3 separate regions of the Homo sapiens genome follow, and all the other regions are linked to region 2. The links are contacts of gene promoters, found by promoter capture Hi-C in blood cells and fetal thymus (Javierre and others, 2016). All regions are on one chromosome and are shown on one strand. Each heading gives the region's core, a stretch centred on a gene start or on the middle of the fragment in contact. The rest is flanking DNA. Distances are from core to core; before and after follow the strand shown. Region 1 overlaps RNF168 (ring finger protein 168). Region 2 holds the start of TM4SF19 (transmembrane 4 L six family member 19). Region 3 has its middle 15 kb from the start of SMCO1.

What was found. The method cuts DNA at HindIII sites, captures the fragments that hold promoters and counts their contacts. A CHiCAGO score of 5 or more calls a contact.
Region 1: a contact is called between a fragment that was not itself captured here and the fragment with the promoter of TM4SF19 in region 2, in 2 of 17 cell types (M2 macrophages and M0 macrophages). The highest score is 8.7, in M2 macrophages.
Region 3: a contact is called between a fragment that was not itself captured here and the fragment with the promoter of TM4SF19 in region 2, in 1 of 17 cell types (M0 macrophages). The highest score is 5.2, in M0 macrophages.

The regions. Positions count from the first base shown.
Region 1 is chr3:196,483,361-196,486,060 of GRCh38, reverse strand. It overlaps RNF168 (ring finger protein 168), which reads left to right. Exons shown (of 6, transcript NM_152617.4): 4 at 2,170-2,291. Among named protein-coding and RNA genes, the nearest start is that of RNF168, 19 kb to the left of the region's middle. The HindIII fragment of the contact is 3,204 bases long and covers 1-2,700 here.
Region 2 is chr3:196,337,136-196,339,835 of GRCh38, reverse strand. It overlaps TM4SF19 (transmembrane 4 L six family member 19), which reads left to right and starts at 1,448. Exons shown (of 5, transcript NM_138461.4): 1 at 1,448-1,572. TM4SF19-DYNLT2B (TM4SF19-DYNLT2B readthrough (NMD candidate)) reads left to right here and starts at 1,416. Exons shown (of 6, transcript NR_037950.1): 1 at 1,416-1,572. RefSeq lists a silencer at 1,144-1,315 and enhancers at 1,064-1,358, 725-1,924. The HindIII fragment of the contact is 5,119 bases long and covers 1-1,819 here.
Region 3 is chr3:196,529,371-196,532,070 of GRCh38, reverse strand. No RefSeq gene overlaps it. Among named protein-coding and RNA genes, the nearest start is that of SMCO1, 15 kb to the right of the region's middle. The HindIII fragment of the contact is 388 bases long and covers 1,126-1,513 here.

The sequences.
Region 1 (2,700 bases), core at 62-2,561, 150 kb before region 2:
AAGATCAGAGGGTACTGTGGGGCCCAGTGGTTTGAACGAGCCTGGCAGAGTAACCTGGGAATGCTGTTGAAATACAAACTCTCATATTTACTCCAAATCTATTAAGTCAGAGTCTCTAGGGATGGGACCTAGGGAATACAATCTTCAGAGGCATGTAGGGAAGTGTGAAACATTCAGGTTTGAGAGCCTGTGAAAACAATTCTTCAGCTTTCAAACAACGAATATCTTAACATACACTTACCATTGAATCATGGGAAGTTCAATAGAATAAAAAAATATATATGTATATACACTTAGCAAAATGAGTATACGCAGAATTGGGAATTTTTTTCTTTTTTGAGAGGCCTACCATTAATAATAATGTACCCAAATTTTGGGTTATATGCCCCTTTTTATGTGTCTTTTTTAAGTAGAATCGCTTTAGAAATACACAATCAGGAAACTAAATAAAAGTCATTGACCAATGGAATAATAAATGGAATAGGGAAGAAGTATATCTAGTTTTCCCATGGTATTATAAGAGTAGATTTATTGATACTGTAGAATAATTTTTTTAACTTTTTTTTTTTTTGAGACAAGAGTCTCACTCTGTCACCCAGGCTGGAGTGCAGTAGTGCAACCTCAACTCCCGGTTCAAGCGATGCTCCTGCCTCAGCCTCCAGAGTATCTGGGATTACAGGTGCCGCCACCACATCCTGTTAATTTTTGTATTTTTAGTGCCGATGGGGTTTCACCATGTTGGCCAGGCTGGTCTTGAACTCCTGGCCTCATGTGATCCACCCACCTCAGCCTCCCAAAGTGCTGGGATTACAGGCATGAACCACCATGCCCAACCTAGAATAATTTTCTATTTATTTATGAAAGTTTGGTGGTTTAAGGCCAAATATTCACCATCACCATATATGAACTTTTCCATTAGGGTAGTAAGAAACTTACGAGACTGGTACAGCAAGTAAATATTTGTGATTTTTATTAATACGCCCTTAAAGTCCAGAACTAAAATATTATTACATAAAACTATTCTTTTGGGTATATCCACAGCTCTCTGAATATGTCCATATAGATAAAAGTAATTATATAAAAGTATTTATTAGAAAAATCAACAGGCTGGGCACAGTGGCACAGACCTATAATCCGAACACTTTGGAAGGCTGTGGTGGGGGAATCACTTGATTCCAATAGTTGGAGACCAGCCTGGGCAACATAGTGAGACCTCATCTTTACAAAGCATTTAAAAAAAAGTAGCTGGGCATGGTGGCACATGCCTGTGTCCTAGCTACTCGAGAAGCTAAGATGGGAGGATTGCCTGAGCCCAGGAGGTTGAGGCTACAGTGAGCTATGATCACTCCACTGCAGTCCAGCCTGGATGACAGAGCAAGACTCTGTCTCAAAATAAAACAAAAACAACCCACCTAACCAAGCCTGGTGGCTCATGCCTGTAGTCCTAGCTACTTGGGAGGTGAAGGTGGGAGGATCACTTGAACCTGGGAGGTCAAGGTTGCAAGGAGCCATGATTGCTACACTGCACTCCAGCCTCGGCGACAGAGTGAGACCCTGTCTTAAAAAAAAAAAAAAAAAAAAAAAAAAGGCCGGGCGCGGTGCCTCATGCCTGTAATCCCAGCACTTTGGGAGGCCGAGGCAGGCAGATCATGAGGTCAGGAAATCGAGACCATCCTGGCTAACACAGTGAAACCCCATCTCTACTAAAAAAAATACAAAAAATTAGCCGGGCATGGTGGAGGGCGCCGGTAGTCCCAGCTACTCAGGAGGCTGAGGCAGGAGAATGGCATGAACCTGCGGGGGTGGAGCTTGCAGTGAGCCGAGATCGCGCCACTGCACTCCAGCCTGGGCAACAGAGCGAGACTGCGTCTCAAAAAAAAAAAAAAAAAGGAAAGAAAGATCAACAGGAATTATCAGCTAATGAGGTTAGTATTATGCCTTATTTTGTGCTTGATGTACAGTAAAAATGTAATTAATTTAGACCAACTTGGATGAACATAGTTTATTCTGATTTTTGCATGGTCAATATTCTTCAAGAGATGTACAGAATTTAAATATAACTATAATTTCTGAAAAATGCTATGGATTTCTGAATTAGTCAAATTAATAGCTTATTTTATCATAAAGTTCTCTCTCATAATGTCTGTTATGCTTTTTCTATTGTTGAAGAACAATTTCTGTGAGGGAAGTATCTCGGCTTCTCCCTTGAATTCCAGAAAATCTGATCCAGTTACACCCAAGTCTGAAAAGAAAAGTAAGAACAAACAAAGAAACACTGGAGATATTCAGAAGTAAGTGAACATGACTATGAATTATTTGTTGACCTCCTACTGTATGCCAGTGTTTTCTGTTCATATAGACTACTACTGATTCTCAAAGTTTGGTCCGTGAACTTTGTATGAAAATAGTCTGAGGTTGAGGTAAATTGAAAAGGAGAGAGCTACTCACACAGCTTCCTCTTGGCTTCTCACTCAGCCACTTACTGTGGCAGATTCATACTTTTATCTTACTGCCTCAGGATTTCCAGTTTTCTCAAAGTGAACCATTGGATTCCTCTTTCTCTTGGTTTAAATTCAGATGAAAAAAATGGGTCCCAGATAGGCTTATCTTCACTGAAAGAGTTTACAATTTGTCATTTCTTCTCTATTACACAAAATGCATGAGTCAGGTAGACAAAGGTGGCGTGATTGAGTTTCACCA
Region 2 (2,700 bases), core at 199-2,698:
AGCCAAAATGAAAGTTAACACTGGGGACAAGGGATACGAATGACAGGCGACACAATGAAACCTCTGGGGATTTGGAATGTCCTGTATCTTGATTTCTGTGCTGGTTCACCAGGGTATACATGTAAAAATTCATCAGACTTTAACATTAAGATTTGTGCACTTTAGGCTGGGCGTGCTGGCTCACACCTGTAATCCCAGCACTTTGGGAGGCGGAGGCGGGTGGATCGCCTGAGGTCGGGAGTTTGAGACCAGCCTGACCAACATGGAGAAACCGTGTTTCTACTAAAAATACAAAATTAGCCAGGCGTGGTGGCACGTGCCTGTAATCCCAGCTACTTGGGAGGCTGAGGCAGGAGAATTGCTTGAAGCCAGGAGGCAGAGGTTGCAGTGAGCTGAGATTGTGCCACTGCACTCCAGCCTGGGAACAAGAGTGAAACTCCGTCTCAAAAAAAAAAAAAAGAAAAGAAAAGATTTGTGCACTTTACTGTATATAATATCTAGATGTTTAAAATGCAATGGGAGCATAGAGAAAGAAGTACCTAACTCGGAGTAAAGAAATCCTGGCAGACTTCACTGGGAATGTTTGAACTGAATCTTGAATAGGAGCTTGTCCATAGAGGGTCACGGATCTCCCACACAGAGAGCACCACAAAATCCTCAGCAATTTGGTGAGAGTATGGTACAAGATGATAGTGGCCTGGGGCTTGAACAAGAGGCTGAGTGCGGTGGCTCACACCTGTAATCTCAGCACTTTGGGAGGCTGAGGCGAACACCTGAGGTCAGCAGTTCGAGACCAGCCTGGCCAAAATGGCAAAACCCCGTCTCTATTAAAAATACAAACATTAGCCGGGCATGGTGGCAGGTGCCTGTAATCCCAGCTACTCAGGAGGCTGAGGTGGGAGGATTGCTTGAGTGTGGGAGGCGGAGGTTGCAGTGAGCCGAGATCATGCCACTGCACTCCAGCCTGGGTGACAGAGTGAGACCCTGTCTCAAAAAAAAAAAAAAAAAAAAGTTAGACGTCTAGTACAGGAACCATGCAACACATCGAGTCAGCCAAGGGCAAGGTAAGGAGAGTGATGAGGAAAAAGGGGTGGCTGCCCTGCTCGGTGCTGTTCTGTCAAAGAGCCGAAATTCTTCGCGGGGTGGCAGATGAGGACAGGAACAGCTGGGGTGTGGCAAGTGTTGCTGCCTGGGGAGAGCGGAGGGTGAGGTGTTTCTCACGGGTGCATCCAGTGACTCATCAGGACAGCGGAGCTCATGAGGCCATGTCTCCCGTTTCCTGCCTTAGAATCACATGAAAATGAGCAGAGGGTGGGTCATCAGGACAGGGCTCTCCGGGGAGCGGAAGCGCCTTCAATGCAGGCCTGTGGGCAGGGGCGTGGGGGCGCGCACACACACACGCCTGGGTGACCTCTACGTATATACAGAGCCTCCCTGGCCCTCCTGGAAAGAGTCCTGGAAAGACAACCTTCAGGTCCAGCCCTGGAGCTGGAGGAGTGGAGCCCCACTCTGAAGACGCAGCCTTTCTCCAGGTTCTGTCTCTCCCATTCTGATTCTTGACACCAGATGCAGGTAAGCAGAGATGAAAGGGTGAGGTGACGGCCAGGGAACAGCCTAGCCTCACAGATGAGAGTGCACGCTTCCACTCCAGTGAGCCTGGCTCTGCAGCTTGGCGTCTGTGTGACTTTGCGCCATTCACTTACCTTCTCCTGTTGCCTCAGTCTGTCAACTTCTGGCCTTTGCACCTAGAATACTCTTCCTGCCTAGTATCTCATCGTCCATCAAGTTTGGGCATGGGCAGCCCTTCCTCCGGGAAGCTTCGTTTTGCTTCTGCCAGATAGGATTAGGTTCCTCCATGTGCTTCCATGACACCTTAAGTTGGATGCCCCTGCCTGGTACTTACTGTTACCAGCTGTGAATCCAGCGAGTCTGCAGCAAACTCAATCCTTGCCTTCTCGGGGGAGAGATTCGGCTGAGGGGCAGAAGTGGGTTTAAGGCAGAGGGAGAGGCTGAAGCAAGTTTGAGAGCAGGAGTGAAGGTTTATTAAAAAGTTTTTGAGCAGCAATGAAAGGAAGTAAAGTACACTTGGAAAAGGGCCAAGTGCGTGACTTGAGACACCCAAATGTGCTGTTAGACCCTTGACTTGGCGCCTGCCTGCCGCACAGGCACTTGGGAGGGGCCGCATGCGCAGTGTGTTTACTGAAGTCGTGCGCATGCTCACTTGAGGCGTTTTTCCCTTACCCGCGGAGCAGCACTAGAGGAAGGTCACACACACCAGCTAAACTCCACCATTTTGCTTCTTAGTGTAGATGCTTGAGCCCACTCGCCCAATTCCTGAGCTCTTACCAGGAAGCTGCTGATCACCAAGTTCAGGTATTTTCTATCTATTGGGAGACTGTCTTTCCCAACGCTGGCTGTGACCAATATTATTTTAGAAAGACAGTGTAACAACCGCCTGGCCATCACCTGATAGTCACCTGACATTACTGGGGTAGAGGCCCTCTCCCGCCCTGCTCATGTCTGCTCTATTTCTTACCACACTTGATTAGAATTACTTTTTGGCCAGCCTGACCCACATGGCGAAAACCCATCACTACTAAAAATACAAAATTAGCCGGGCGTGGTGCATGCCTGTAATTCCAGCTACTTGGGAGGCTGAGGCAGGAGAATAACTTGAACCCGAGAGGCGGAGGTTGCAGT
Region 3 (2,700 bases), core at 70-2,569, 190 kb before region 2:
GCTTTTATTTTGCATTTGAGACAAAATTTCTTCAAAGTACAGTTTTAGCTACCTCCTTATTGTCTTATGTCACATTTTCATTGTTTTTCAATGAAACATTTAAAATTTTCATTGTATTTTCTTCTTTGAGACATGAATAATTTAGAAACATGGTAAAACACTGAAACTTTCTTCATGATGTTGGTAACAAGAGAATAGAATGAAGCCTATAATCCCAGCACTTTGGGAGGCTGAGGCAGGCAGATGGCCTGAGGTCAGGAGTTTGAGAATAGAATGAAATTCCCTTGATTAATTCTATTCAACATTCTGTTGAAGGTGTAGACATTACAACAAGACAAGAAAAAGAAATGAAAGACATAAGAATTGGAAAGGAAGAACTAAAACTGTCATTCACAGACAACATGATTGTGTTTGCAGAACAAGGACGGATGCGGTGACTCACGCCTGTAATTCCAGCACTTTGGGAGGAAAAGGTGGGTGGATCACCTGAGGTCAGGAGTTTGAGACAAGCCTGGCCAACATGGTGCAACCCTGTCTCTACTAAAAATACAAAAATTAGTCAGGTGTGGTGGCATGTGCCGGTAGTACCAGCTACTCAGGAGGCTGAGGCAGGAGAGCCACTTGAACCCAGGAGGTGGAGGTTGCAGTGAGCTGAGATCACGCCACTGCACTCCAGCCTGGGTGACAGAGCAAGACGAAAGAAAAGAAAGGCGGGCAGGCGGGCAGGCGGGCAGGCGGGCGGGCAGGCGGGCGGGTGGGCGGGCAGGCAGGCAGGCGGGCGGGCGGGCATCTACAGATGAACGACTAAGTGAAAAATGGGTTTAGTAAGGTTGCTGAATAAAAAGGTAAATATAGAAAAATTGGTCGTATTTATAACAGCAATAAGAAAAACATTAAACACTACTTACAACAGCATCAAGAAACATCAAATACCTAGTAATAAATCTAATGGAAAACATGCAAAAACTCTACAAAGGAAACTACAAAACACGACCGAGGAAAATTAAAGAGAATCTAAATAAAGATACGTATCATATTCATGAATTAGAAGGCTAAATATTATGAAGATGTCAATGTAATTCTACTCAATATCCCAGCTCATAGCGTTCTAAAAATTAGCAAGCTTATTGAAAATTTTATATGAAAATGCAAATGGCCCAGAATACCCCAGATAATCTTGAAGAGCATAGCTGGAGGACTCACACTGTATGTTATTAAGACTTTTTAATGAAGCCAAAATAATTAAGGTTGAGTGTGATTTGGGCACAAGAATAAATAAGCAGACCAATGGAACAGAATAGAGGATAGAAATAGATGCTTGCATGTATGCAAACTTGATTAATGACAAAAGTCCACTGCAGAGCAGTGAGGAAACTCTTTATAATAAATGGGATTGAGTCAGTTGTATATCCATATGGAGAAGAAAAGAATCTTGACCTTCTTCACATTAATCCAAAGGTCTAAATTTTAGGCATATTACAGATATAAATGTAATAGGTAAAGTGGTGAAGCTTCTAAAAGGAAAAAAATATTTTCATGACCTTGGGGTAGGAAAAATTTCATATATAAGACATCAAAATGAAAACATGATAAATTGGACTACTTGAAAATTAAGAACATTAGTTCATGAAAACACACCATCAAGATGATGAAAAGAAAGCCACGGAGTGGACCGGGTGCGGTGGCTCAAGCCTGTAATCCCAGCACTTTGGGAGGCCGAGGCAGGCGAATCATGAGGTCAAGAGATCGAGACCATCCTGCCCAACATGGTGAAACCCCGTCTCTACTAGAAATACAAAAATTAGCTGGGCTTGGTGGCATGTGCCTGTAGTCCCAGCTATTCAGGAGGCTAAGGCAGGAGAATCACTTGAACCCGGGAGGCAGAGGTTGCAGTGAGCCGAGATCGTGCCATTGCACTCCAGCCTGGGCGACACAGAGAGACTACATCTCACAAAAAAAAAAAAAAAAAAAAAGATACAATGCACTTTGGGTATTCAGGGGAAAGGGTGGGAAGGGGGCGAGGGATAAAAGACCACACGTTGGGTACCGTGTACACTGCTCGAGTGATGGCTGCACCAAATCTCAGAAATCACCACTGAAGAACTTATGAAACCAAACACCACCTGTTCCCCAAAAACCTATTGAAATAAATAAAAAGTAAGTAAAATATAAAAATGGTAAATTTTGTTATGTATATTTTTGCACAATTTAAACAAACTTTTCTGGCTCACACCTGTAATCCCAGCACTTTGGGAGGCCAAGGCGGGAGGACCACTTGAGCCCAGGAGTTGGAGACCAGCCTGGGCAACGTAGCAAGACTATGTCTTAATTAATTAATTAATTAATTAATTTATGGAGACAGAGTCTCGCCCTGTCACCCAGGCTGGAGTGCAATGGCACGATCTTGGCTCACTACAACCTCTGCCTTCTGGGTTCAAGCGATTCTCCTGCCTCAGCCTCCCGAGTAGCTGGGATTACAGGTGCGCGCCACCACGCCCGGCTAATTTGTTGTATCTTTAGTAGAGATGGGGGTTTCACCATGTTGGCCAGGCTGGTTTCGAACTCCTGACCTCGTGATCCGCCAGCCTCAGCCTCCCAAAGTGCTGGGATTACAGGCGTGAGCCACCGTGCCCGGCCTCAGAAGCTCCACAGTGGGCCTCTTCTTATATTTCATGGGCCAGAATTCTGCCACCTGTCCGT